Linked DNA regions of Homo sapiens: regions 2 and 3 are each linked to region 1. Evidence: promoter capture Hi-C in 16 types of primary human blood cells and fetal thymus (Javierre and others, 2016). All regions are on one chromosome and are shown on one strand. Each heading gives the region's core, a stretch centred on a gene start or on the middle of the fragment in contact. The rest is flanking DNA. Distances are from core to core; before and after follow the strand shown.

Region 1 (4,434 bases), core at 644-3,143:
TCACATGCCCAATAAATGGGATTGCCCACTAGGGAGGTGGAGGGGGCATGAAGAAAGTGTTCAGCTCACCCTCTGTGAGAGCCCAGACAGGTGGCTGCTGGGAAGGAGGAGCAGGGACCTATAAGGGTCAGGGGAAGGGCCCAGCACATGCTCCTGGGGTCCTGGGGCAGGCAGATTAACAGGTGAGGGGAAACAGAAGCTCTGTGGAGCCATCTTGGGGGAACTTTCTTACTGGAATGTTCCTCTGTGGTATATATGGCTGCTTGTGCTTGCAAGGAGGAGAGAGGGAGACAGCTCTTCCCTGTTTACTCCCACTCCCCAAAAAAGAGGTGGCCTATTTGGGACACTCTGGTGCTCCTTTTCCAGGACACAGTCCTTCTGCCCAGCTAACACTGCCGGAGTCTTGGGCTTAAAAATTACAGCAAAGCTCTCTCTCAGGCCCCTGATTCTCGAGCCCTGGTGGACCATCAGAATCTCCTGAAGTATTAAAACAAGATTCCTGGGTCTCGATTCAGTAGATCTGCAGTGAGAGCCGACATCTGTATTTTTAGTAAGCCCTCCACACTCCTCCCTCTCCAGCCCTTAGGTGACTGTGAAGATCAGCTGTGTGTGGGACCCCTGATCTCCCTACACCCCGCCTGCCTTGGGACAGACCCTCTCTATTAATAGAGAGGAATGAGCAGGGGAGCAGGAGAGGGGCCGCCCTTCAGTTTTCCCCTCCCCAACTGCTTAAGGAACTGCTGCCTTTTTTTTTTTTTCTCCTCTGCCACAGGACCTTTTGCCAACCTAAATGGTTGGAATAATTTCAGAACGGCTTTAAAGAAAAATATTTTTCTGGCTGCCTGCAGGAAAAAAAAATAAAAAAATGAACTGTCCCCAGAGCTGGGAATTAGGACCTTCAAGGATTGGGAACTGGGTCGCTTTCTTCTTTCTTTCCAAAAGCCAAGTGGTTTGGACCAGTGAGACAGAAATTGAAAGCTGCTGAGAAGACACTGTGCAGGTTGGAAAAAGCCGTTTTTCTCTCCCTCCTACCCAGTGAAGCCCTAAATAATGAAGAAACCCTTCCAGCTCCCGCTCTTGCTTATCTCCTCCCTATTCGGCCTGGACTTGGGATGCAAGATTTTCTTCTGGCTCTGCCATCTCAGTGGGAAAACGTACTTTATCTTTGCTCTTACAGCTAGGGAGGTGTGTGTGAGAGGGCGAGAGACAAGATGCAGGGAACATGTGTGCATGCATGTGTGTGTGTGTCTGCTGGTGTCTGGTGATGATGTGGTCTAGCTCTGCATGTCAGATGCAGAGGGCAGAGGTGAATGGACAGGATGTCTTCATTTTGTATGGTCGTGTGGGGTGATGGTAGTGAACGTGCAGCCTCCGTGTGATGTGTGTGACTTCCACAATGTGTGACAATACACAAAAGGTGCAAAGAAATGGGTTCTGGAGTCCAGTTTCTATGGAAACACCTGATCTGTAGAAACACTTTGTGCAGCGTGGCTCTCTGTGCTACAACAAACATCTGCAGCAGGAAAGCTTAACTTTTGCAGTAAGCAAATATAGGGGTACAGAGTGATGAAAAGAAAAGGAAGAGGCTATAGGAAAGAAGTTAGGAAGACTAAATTTGAACTCATTTGAGAGGAGAAAGAGGTGGGAGGAAGGAAGGAGTGAGAGGATAGAGACTAGATCAATAAATGGACAGAGCTGGAGGAAACTTACTGGATGAAAGATTCTTCCCAGTCTCCTGCCCATCTCCCAACTGGGCTTACCTGCACACACCTGCCTCTCCTCTCAGCTCTGAGTTTAGTCCTCCTCTTCCACCCCCTCCCTTCGGCGGAGCTGTGGCAGCAGAGAGCCAGCTAGAAGATCTGATCTCCCAGTGGTGTGTGCGTGCTTGTGTTTGCCTGACTTTTCTTCCACCAGATCCTATTGGGGTGGGGAGGTTAGCTTGGGGGGAGGGAGGGGCAGATCATAGGGAGGGAGGGGAGGAGAGGAGGGAGGAGGGAGGGAGGGGAGGGGAGGAGAGAGGGAGGGAGCTTGGGAAAGGAGGAATGACAATAAAGTCTTTATTTGGCAGCCAAAACTCCCAAAGACTTCATCCACACACCATTCCCACTAACAGACTCATTTTTAATAACATTTCCTTCTGCTGCTGCCGCTTCTGGAGAGGGGTTGTTTGACCCATGTTTGGAAAACAAGCCAAATTAACAGAGTGAAAAGGCATGAAAAGCAACCTCTGTGTAAGCCAGGACTGGATGGCTGGGTCCAGCACTAGCCTGTTTAATTCCTCCTAACAATCGCCTTGCCTTCTGGGGCCGTTGCTCGGTAGTGTTAAATTCCTAAACCAGTGAGGGGTTTGGGATGCTTCCTCTGAGCAGTGACAGTCTTTCCCTAAGTTATCTTCTCCAGGAGGTTGCAAAGGGAGTGGAGTCTCAGGCTGGCATAGGAGATAACTTCGGTTTGGCTGCCAGGGCTGTTCTGAGAACCAGAGAGGGAGAAGTCTGGCCTGAGTTGCACAGCAAAGTTAAGGCAGAATTAAGATTTAATGTAAGACCTAAAGTCACTGTTCCTAGCTCATGTGGACAATGTAGTGGCTTCTTTCAGCTTCTCCATATCACACTTAGGTGAGATTTAGGGGCTGTGTGGTCATCACACAAAGTGATGGGAAATCCAAATTTCCCCTGTGCACATCAACACCCCAGAAGACCCAGTCAAGTAACACCACTACCTCTAACAATCCTCTAACAATGCCCCTCAATTAAGAAAGCACAACACACTTGCAGGTAAGTAGATGCCCATCAAAATTTCCTGCCATGGCCAGGCACAGTGGCTCACGCCTGTAATCCCAGTACTGTGGGAGGCAGAGGCAGGCGGATCACCTGAGGTCAGGAGTTTGAGGCCAACCTGGCCAACATGGTGAAACCCTGTCTGTACTAAAAATACAAAAAAATTAGCTGGGTGTGGTGGCGGGCATCTGTAGTCCCAGCTACTAGGGAGGCTGAGGCAGGAGAATTGCTTGAACCTGGGAGGCAAAGCTTGCAGTGAGCCAAGATCGTGCCACTGCACTCCAGCCTGGGCAACAAGAGCGTGACTCTGTCTCAAAAAATAAATAAGTAAATAAAATAAATAAATTCCTGCCATCCCAGCTGACTACTTAGAAAATGCAACGCAATTTTCTTCTCCATTATTGGTTCCATGGAGAGCTGCAGAGCCCCATGACAGGGGACTGCCTGCCTGCCCTCCGCAATATGGGGTAGAGGAGAGAACATTAAAATTAGGGTCTGCAGCCCTGGGCTCAGCCACCCACAAGCTATGGTCTTAGGTGAATCACTTGATCATGAGGACCTTCAGTTTCCTCATTTACAAAATATGGATAATATTGACCTCACAGGGTTGGGAAGATTAAATATTGTAAATGTGAGAGCACTTTATAAACTGGGAAGATATTAGGGTTTAGGAAAGGGATTGCGATGAATGGTAATTAGCCTAAGAAAAGGAGAAGGAAAAATAAAACCCAGACCTTTCTCCAACCCCCTTCCACCCCAGATCTCATGGCTTCACGCCCTGCTGGTGAGGTCTTGCTGGAAGACAGCACGGTTCCTCTCCAGGTTCACATTAACTGTGGCTCTGCCAGGCTGCTCATGTGCTTCATTTCTCATCCAGATGGGATATGGCGTCTTCTGCAGGCCGGGAACATCAGACGCCAGATTTGCTTGTTTCCCTTGGTATGGTGGGTGGTAGATGATAGAGGGCAAAAAAGACTGGCTGGGCACGGAGACTCATGTCTGTAATCCCAGCACTATGGGAGACGAAGGCAGAAGATTAATGGAGCCCAGGAGTTCGAGACCAGCCTGGGCCATATGGGGGGACCCTGTTTGTACAAATAATTTAAAAATTAGCTGGGTGTGGTGGTGTGTACCTGAAGTCCCAGCTACTTAGGAGACTGAGGTGAGAGGATTATTTGAGGCCAGGAGACCAAGGCTGTAATGAGCTATGATTACGCCAGTGCCCTCCAGCCTGGGTCACAGAGCAAGACCCTGTCTCAAAAAATAATAAGGTGAGCAAAGTACAGTGAGGTACAGGGATGATGGGTAGAGTGTCTGTGGGGATAGACAGACTGGAAGGAGTGTGGAGTATGGGCAGGGGCAGGGGTGTCACCTGTATCCATTTGTATGACAGCCATCCAAATCCCAAGAGTCTATGCTCTCGGGAATGGATGGCCAACTTCCAAGCCCTGCCTAAGCCAGTTATCTCCCTTCCTCCCTCTCCTATCTCCCGCATCCCACGCTATGCAGAGAGAATTGGAAAGAAGTATAGACATGGCCAGCAGGATATTCAGGAGTGTCCAGAATAGAGTTTGCTAATCAGTGGCTTGTGGACCTAATATGGCTTGAGTACCTAATTTTTTTTGACAGCACGTTAATTTTTTAAAAGTTTTGTGGA
Region 2 (4,434 bases), core at 636-3,135, 240 kb after region 1:
TTGTTTGTTTGTTTGTTTGTCTGTAGAAAGGGGGTCTCACTAGGTTGAGACCTAGTTGTTCAGGAGGTCAAGGTTGTTCAGGCTGGTCTCAAACTCCTGAACTCAAGAAATCCTCCTGCCTCTGCACCCCAAAGTGCTGGGATTTCAGGCATAAGCCACTGCACCCAGCCTAGTTAATGGACTTTTATGCAGGCTTCCCCACATAAGCATGATTACGTGGTCTTCAGCCCCACTCCCCTTCCCAGAGGATGGGGGGTGGAGCTGAAGGTTCCAAACTTCTCATCATGGCTTGGTCTTTCTGGTGACCAACCCCCCTCCAGATGCCCACAAAGAGGCACCTCTTTGGAACAAAAGATGCTCCTAGTACCCAGGAAGTTCCAAGGGCTTAGGAGTTCTGTGTCAAAACTAGGGTCAAAGGCTAAACATTAGAACAAGAGATGCACCTAGAACCCCTATTTCTCAAGAAATTTTAAGGGTTTTAGGAGCTCCGTGCCAGAAATTGGGGACAAAGACCAAATATACATTTCTTATATCACAATATCATAGTGGGCCAGATCATGCAGAGAGGTCACATTAATTAATTAATTAATTCAATAGATATGGATTAAGCACCTACTATGTGCTGGGAAATATTCTGGGTACTAGACAAAGAGGACTAAACAAGAAAAGTCCCTCCTCTCATGAAGCTTACATTCTAGTGGTAGGAAACAGACACTACACACAAATGAATGAATGAATGAATGAATTCAGCCATGAAAGTACTTAGGAGAAAATAAATCATCAGGAGAGAACAGAGAGTGACTTGAGGGGAGGGCACTACTTTCTATGAGTGGTCAGGAAAAGCATGAATGAGGAGAAGGAGCCAGCTGTGTGAAGATCACAGAGAAGAACATTGTGGGCAGAGGCAATGGCAGGTGCAAAGGTATCAGGAGAACCCGCCCCTGAATATTCAACGTGGGCCCTTTTCTATTTTTCCTAAGTGTCAGTCGGTCTGAGAAATAAAGGGAAAGAGTACAAAAGAGAGAAATTTTAAAGCTGGGTGTCCGGGGGAGACATCACATGTCAGCAGGTTCCATGATGCCCCCCAAGCTGCAAAACCAGCAAGTTTTTATTAGTGATTTTCGAAAGGGGAGGGAGTGTATGAATAGGGTGTGGGTCACAAAGATCACATGCTTCACAAGGTAATAAAATATTACAAGGCAAATGGAGGCAGGGCGAGATCACAGGACCGGGGCGAAATTAAAATTGCTAATGAAGTTTCGGGCATGCATTGTCATTGATGACATCTTATCAGGAGACAGGGTTTGAGAGCAGACAAGCGGTCTGACCAAAATTTATTAAGCAGGAATTTCCTCATCCTAATAAGCCTGGGAGTGCTACGGGAGACTGGTGCTTATTTCATCCCTTATCTACAACAGTAAAAGACAGATGTCCCCAGAGCGGCCATTTTAGAGACCTCCCCCTAGGAATGCATTCTCTTTCTCAGGGATGTTCCTTGCTGAGAAAAAGAATTCAGCGATATTTCTCCTATTTGCTTTTGAAAGAAGAGAAATATAGCTCTGTCCCACCTGGCTGTCAGGCAGCCAGACCTAATGGTTATCTCCCTTGTTCCCTGAACATCGCTGTTATCCTGTTCTTTTTTCAAGGTGCCCAGATTTCATATTGTTTAAACAATTTATGCAGTTAACGCAATCCTCACGGAGTCCTGAGGCAACATACATCCTCAGTTTACAAAGATGGCGGGATTAAGAGATTAAAGTAAAGACAGGCATAGGAAATCACAAGAATATTGATTGGGGAAGTGATAAATGTCCATGAAATCTTCACAATTTATGTTCAGAGATTGCAGTAAAGACAGGCGTAAGAAATTATAAAAGTATTAATTTGAGGAACTAATAAATGTCCATGAAATTTTCACAATTTATGTTCTTCTGCCATGGCTTCAGCCGGTCCCTCCGTTCAGGGTCCCTGACTTCCCGCAACATCTCTCCCTTTCTTTTTATATAAATGTGCCATGGCGATGAAGGCTTGTTCATTCTCTCGATTTTGATGCAGGATTCTTTGACTTGTCTGACACACTAAAGACAAGCTGGTTAAACAGAGAAACATAATTCCAAAATTTACTAGAGTGGGGCCTCCAATAGACTTAATCAAAGTCGTGGGGTTTAGTCCATAAAGATTTTCTGCCACCTGATCTAACGCCTCAGCTCCAGGCACAATGGATAAGTGAGCCTGAGAGGCTTCAAAAATTTGTTTTTTTAATTTAGTTATGTCCAGTGATAAATTATCTTCCCTGCCAAGAAGGTGTCCTTTGAAAGAACATTGTCCTAATGAAAGAATAGAGTTAGAGTGTTCTAGAGGTAGAGTTAAGGAGTTGATATTTTATTTTAAGTGGGAACCATTGCAAGGTCTTAGCAGGAAAGCAACAGGATCTGATTTAAGTTTCTCAAAGTGTACTCTGGCTGCTGTGTGGAGAATGGATTGCAGAGGCAAGAGAATTAGGAAGGAAGGCAGGTAGGAGGCTCTTCTGGGGACAGGGTGGGAGTTGACGGTGGTTAGGAGGTGGAGGAGATGGAGCAGGAGGCAGGATGTCTAATAGGTCCTGATCATTGAGGGTGAGGAAAGGGAAGGATCAAGGACACTTCCTGGGTGACTTGGAGACCCGGATAGGTGGTGATGTCTTTTACTGCTAAGGGGAAGAACACGGTGGGACGTGGGAAGGAACAGTTAACAAACATTAATTGAAGACCCCCTGTATGCTTGGTGCTGAGGGACACATAGAGAGGTGTGGAGAGAGGCCCCACTCTGCCTGGCTATGGACAGTCCAGCTACAGAGATGAGATGCTCACATGAAGCAAGAGAAAAAGGTGTGATACCAACCATCAAGATGCAGTCCCATGAGATCTGGCTGGCGTCCTCCCACCTACAAAGCCCTCTCACACATTATCTATTCGATCCACATCATTACCAAATAAGATAGGTAGTATTATCCCCATTTTACAGATGAGAAAACCAAGGCTTGGAGAGGCTGTGACTAGCCCCAGCTCAGCCAGCCAGGTTGGATGCAAATCAGCAGAAGCTTTAGAATTTCTATACAGGCATCTGCTCTGCAGTAGGGTGGGACGGGGACTTGCTTTGAAGCCTCATTTTATATCAAGCACACTGGTTTTACTTGGTTTGGGCTTTGGCAGTGGCTGAGAAAGGGGTGGGAGAAGCCAATGGGGCTGGAAAGGAGAGTATAAAATCTATGAAAGTAATTTATTGGTGATATCCATTGAGATACACCCAGTTCTGTCTGTCTCCAAGCCAGGGTTCTTTCCTATTCTGGATGGAAGGAGTTGTTCCAAGATAGCAGAAGGTAGTATGGAGTACATTGACTGTGGAAGAGGCAAGGCTTAACTCAGAGTGATCTCTGTAGGACTTGAGGGCCAGGGAGGGCAGCCCCAGGAGGGACACAATTTAGGAGCAAAGGTGTGGTGGGCTGTTAATTGAAGTTTGCTGAAGGCATCAGAGACCTCTCAGTTCTACACATGGGCAATCTGTACTGGTGGCTGGGACCTGCCTACTTAGGTGGGAACTCTGGGTCAGTCCCTGGGGAAGGCTCCTCCCCAGCTTTGGTGGACATGGGCCTGCCTTCTGCTCCCAGGTCTCAGCCTCCAGGCAGGGACTTATTCCTTGAAATCTTGCAATTCAGGTCTGGCCATCAGGTGAGCCCAGGATGTGCCCTACTAGACTGAGGCATACTGTAAAATAAATCCAGGCTGGCAAGGCATTGTATCTCTCTCCTCTCCCTCCAGCCATGTCCAGTGCCCTTTTACACAGAGCCCCTCAGCAGAGATCACCCCCACCTGCCTACCTCAACCAGTGGTTCTCAACCGACAGGACACAGAGTTTTTAATGATGTCCCACTGTCCCTGCATGTATCGTGGGCAGTTTCCTCACTGAGAGGCTCCATCAGTGAACATCTGGTGTGTTTGTTATAACTTCCTTCCCTTTCTCTCTTTGTCCAGCAACCTACTTATTCTCAAAGCTCTGTTCAAGCATCACTCCACTGGCTTTCCCACCCCACCCTGGCTGGTGTTTCTCCTTGAGCTCCTTTGCTCCCTGTGCCCACCTTCATTTACCACGTGTCATTTCTGCTGTATATGGTGTGAGGGGCCTAACTTTGATTCTTTCCAGATTGGTAGACAATTAAGTCATTGGCATTTATAAAACATCTTTTTCTTATTCATTTGAACTGCTACCTTCATTGCACACACCCTCTCCATATATGCTCAGACCTACCTCTGTTTGTCTGTCCTGGTGGCAATTCCATGCTATTTTAATCCCAATGGAATTATAATAAGTTTTGTATAGTGTGTCACCATCATTACTGGTTTTGTATTTTAGTTGACAAAAATTGACATTTGTTATGATATTGTTTTCCCGTGCAAG
Region 3 (4,434 bases), core at 959-3,458, 220 kb after region 1:
AAGCCCCTCACAGTCATTCATGAAGTTGAAAACAACTTTTTCCAAACTCTTGTTAATGTTGATATTCTAACCTCTCATGAATCACAAATGTTCTTAATGGCATCCAGAATGGTGAATCCTTTCCAGAAGATTTACATTTACTTTGCCCAGATCCATCAGAAGAATCAGTATCTAGGGCAGCTATAACCTAACAAAATGTATTTCTTAAATAATAAGACTTGAAAATTGAAATTATTTCTTGATCCATGGGCTGCAGAATGGATGTTGTGCTAGTGGGCATGAAAACAACATTCATCTCCTTGTACATCTCCATCAGAACTCTTGGGTGACCAGGCTTATTGTCAATGAGCAATAATATTTTGAAATGAATCTTTTTTTCTGAGTAGCATGTCTCTATAGTGAGCTTAAAATATTCAGTAAACTATGCTGTAAACAGATGTCCTGTCATCCAGGCTTTGTTGTTCAATTTATAGAGCACAGGCAGATCAGATTTAGTATAATTCTTAAAAGCTCTAGAATTTCCAAAATGGTAAATAAGCATTGGTTTCAACTTAAAGCCACCAGCTGCATTAGCCCCTAACAAGAGAGTCAGCTGTCCTTTGAAGCTTTGAAGCTAGGCATTGACTTCTCCTCTCTAACTGTGAAAGTCCCAGATGGCATCTGCTTTCAATAGAAGCCTGTTTTATCTACATTGAAAAGCTGTTGTTTAGTGTAGCCACCTTCATCAATGATCTTAGCTAGATCTTCTGGATAACTTGCTGCAGCTTCTACATCAACACTTGCACTTTTATGTTATGGAGATGGCTTCTTCCCTTAAACCTCATGAACCAACTTCTGCTAGCTTCAAACTTTTCTTCTGCAGCTTCCTGACCTCTCTCAGCCTTCCTCCATAGTACAGAAGAGAGTTAGCCTTGTTCTGAATTAGGCTTTGGCTTTGGGAATGTCGTGGCTGGTTTGATCTATCCAGACCACTCAAACTTTCTCCACATCAGCAATAAAGTGGTTTTGCTTTATGTGTTCACTGGAGTAGCACTTTTAATTTTCTTCAAGAAATTTTTCTTTGCATTTAAAACTTGGCTGTTTGGTACAAGAGGACCAGCCTTTAGCCCATCTCAGCCTTTGACGTGTCTTCCTCACTAACCTTAATCATTTCTAGCATTTTATTTAAAGCAAGAGACATATGACTCTTCCTTTCACTAGAACACTTAGAGGCTATTATTGTAAGATTATCAATTGGCCTAATTTCAATGTTTTCATGTCTCAGGGAATAGGGAGGCCCGAGGAAAAGAGAGACGGGGAATAGCCATTTGGTGGAGGAGTGAGAACACACACAAGATGGATCAATTAAGTTTGCTGTCTTTTCATGGCACCCCAAAACAATTACAATAGTAACATCAAAGATCACTGATCACAGATCACAATAACAGATATGCTACTATTAATAATAAAGTTTGAAATGTTTTAAGAATTATCAAAATGTGACACAGAGACACAAAGTAAGCATGTGCTATTGGAAAAATGGTGCCAAAAGATTTGCTTGACACAGGGTTGCCACAAGCCTTCAATTTGTATAAAATGTAATATCTGTGAAGCACAATAAAATAAAGTGCAATAAAATGAGATATGCCTGTGTTGGAAGAAAAAACCTGCCAACTAAGAATGCTAGATCCAACAAAACTGTCCTTCAAAAACAAAGATGAAATTACAACTTTCCCAAATAAATAAAATTTGAGGGAGTTTATCACCACTAGTCCTGACCTACAAGAAATGCTGAAGGGAGTCCCTGAAGTTGAGGTAAAGGGACAAAATGCAATTCAAAAAAAAAAAAAGAAAATATTAAATTCTCTGGTAAATATATAGATAAATATAGAATCTTGTAGTATTGTAATGTGTGTAAATCTCTTCTAAATCTCATAGAATTCAAAAAACAAAAGCATAGAAAGTAATTATAAATCTATGGTAATGGATATGCAATATAAAAAAGGTAATTTGAGTCATCAGTAACATAAAGGTGGGGTGGACTGAGATGTAAAGAAGCAGAGTTTTAGATGCAATTGAAGCTAAGTTGTTATCAGCTTAAAATAGATTGTTATGATATTACCCATATTCTTCCAGTCTTCTGCCAAAAGATCTGAATCTACAATTGTCCCAGTGGTACTGAATTACTTATCTGATGATTAAGAATGAAAGAGCCGTTTTCTTTGCAGTCCAAAGGCAAACTTCTGTAGGGAATTCTAGCTAGGGAAAGTGTTATACCCTCTTCTTATTAGTTTCCCCCAGGGAGGAAAGAGTGTGTCTATGGAGAAATCTAATTACAATTTTCTTTGCCCTTTTTGAAATACAAAGGGACAGATTTTCCCCTAATTTATCTATGGAGACACACCTATGTAAGAGAACAGGCAAACAAGTAAGCAAGCAAGCAGTTTTTCTGAATTAAGGGGCTTTAATCAGGAAACCACCACATGGTACTCATTAAAAGTAGATTGTTAAAACATTAAGAGGTTATGTTTCACGTAATTGCAATGGTTACCACAAAGACAGTAACTATAGAATGTAAGTGCTATGATTTGAATATGGTTTATCCCCCACTGAAATTCATGTTAAGGCTTGTTCCCCATGTAATGGTGTTGAGAACTGGTGGGACCTTTAAGAGGCATTTGGGTCATAAGCCATCTGTCCTTATGAAGGGATTAATGCCATTTCACAGGAGTGAATTATTGCTCTTCAGTGACTGGATTAGTTACCGCAAGAGTGGGTTGTTATAAAGTGAGGTCACCCCTCATGTTTTCTCTCTTGTGTGTGTACCCGCTCAGTGCTCTCACATGCATAACCACCATGTGATGCCATCCTCCATGTTATGACACAGCATGAGACCCTCGTCAGATGCAGCTGTTTGATCTTGAACTTCCCAGCATCAAGAACTGTGAGCTAAACAAACCTCTTTTTAAAAAATAAATTACCTGGTCTCAAGTATTCTGTTACAGCAACAGAAAATGGACAAAGACTGTAAAGGAAAGGAAGTGAGAAGGGAATCAAAATCTGTGGCCACAAAAAAAAATTAATGAAACACAAAAGAAATTATCAAAAGAAAAAAGGGGGGGGGGACAAAGAAAGCTACAAGTGAAACAGAACACAATGAACAAAATGGCAACAGTAAGTCCTTCACTATCAGCAATTTCTTAAAATGTAAATGCCATTATGAGCAATTATATGCCAACAATTGGATTTGGCAATAATTTCTTGGATATGATACCAAAAGCACAGGCAACAAAATAAAAAATAGACAAATAGTACTACATAAAACTTAAGTTTTTTTACACATCAAAGTAACAGTCAACAGAGAGAAAAGGCAACCTATGGAATGGGAGAAAAGAGTTGCAAGTCATATATCTGATAAGGGGTCAATATCCAGAATATATAAGGATCTTGTACAACTTAACAACAAGAAAAACCCCAAATAATCCAATTTAAAAACTGGCAAAGGATTTAAATAGACATTTCTCCAAAGAAGATATATGAATGGTTATTAAGTACATGAAAATATGCTCAACATCATTAATCACTAGGGAAATGTAAATAAAACTCACAATGAGATATCACCTCACACCCATCAGGATAGCCATTATAAAAATAACAGGAAATAACAAGTGTTGACAAGGATGCAGAGAAGTTTGGGTCCTCATGCACTGGTGGTGGGAAAGTAAATTATACAGATGTTATGAAAAACAGTATGGAGTTTCTCAAAACATTAAAAATAGAACTATCATATGATCCAGCAATCCCCCTTTTGGGTATATAGCCAAAAAGCTTCAAAGCAGATCTCAGAGATATTTGCACACCCATGTTCATTGCAGGATTATTCACAATAGCCAACAGGAGGAAATAACAGGTAATTGGATAAGAAAATGTGGTATATGCACATAATGGAATTTTATGTGCCCTTAAAAAAGGGCATGTTACAACATGAATGAAGCTTAAGGACATTATGCTAAGTGAAATAAGCCAGTCACAAATGGACAAATACTGTATAATTCACTCATATAAAGTATCTAAATAAGTCAGAATCCTCAAAACATAAAGTAAAAAGGTAGTCGCCAAGAACTTGCGGGAGGTGGGATGGGGAATTCATGTTTGGTAGGTATAGAGTTTCAGTGTTGCAAGAAGAAAAATTTCTAGAGACTTGTTGCACAAGTGAATATACTTAACAGTACTGAAATGTACATTTAAAAATGTTTAGGATGGTTTAATGTTGTGTGGTTTTTACCACAATACAAAAAAAAAGACTCAGCTAAGAAAACGAACAGGCAAAACCAAAGGCTGGTAGAAAACATTCACAGTACATATATCTGAATATGGATTTCTATCCAGAATAATAAAGAACTTCTAACACAATAAAAATGTGGATGACAGACTTGAGCAACATTTTCAGAAGCA

What was found. The method cuts DNA at HindIII sites, captures the fragments that hold promoters and counts their contacts. A CHiCAGO score of 5 or more calls a contact.
Region 2: a contact is called between a fragment that was not itself captured here and the fragment with the promoter of PRELP in region 1, in 1 of 17 cell types (naive B cells). The highest score is 5.4, in naive B cells.
Region 3: a fragment that was not itself captured here is called in contact with the fragment with the promoter of PRELP in region 1 in 1 of 17 cell types (total CD8 T cells); the score reaches 5.4 in total CD8 T cells.

What each region holds. Positions count from the first base shown.
Region 1 is chr1:203,473,265-203,477,698 of GRCh38, reverse strand. PRELP (proline and arginine rich end leucine rich repeat protein) reads right to left here and starts at 1,893. Exons shown (of 3, transcript NM_002725.4): 1 at 1,761-1,893. The HindIII fragment of the contact is 1,499 bases long and covers 1,530-3,028 here.
Region 2 is chr1:203,232,088-203,236,521 of GRCh38, reverse strand. No RefSeq gene overlaps it. Among named protein-coding and RNA genes, the nearest start is that of CHIT1, 4.6 kb to the right of the region's middle. The HindIII fragment of the contact is 2,393 bases long and covers 689-3,081 here.
Region 3 is chr1:203,251,190-203,255,623 of GRCh38, reverse strand. No RefSeq gene overlaps it. Among named protein-coding and RNA genes, the nearest start is that of CHIT1, 24 kb to the right of the region's middle. The HindIII fragment of the contact is 3,202 bases long and covers 608-3,809 here.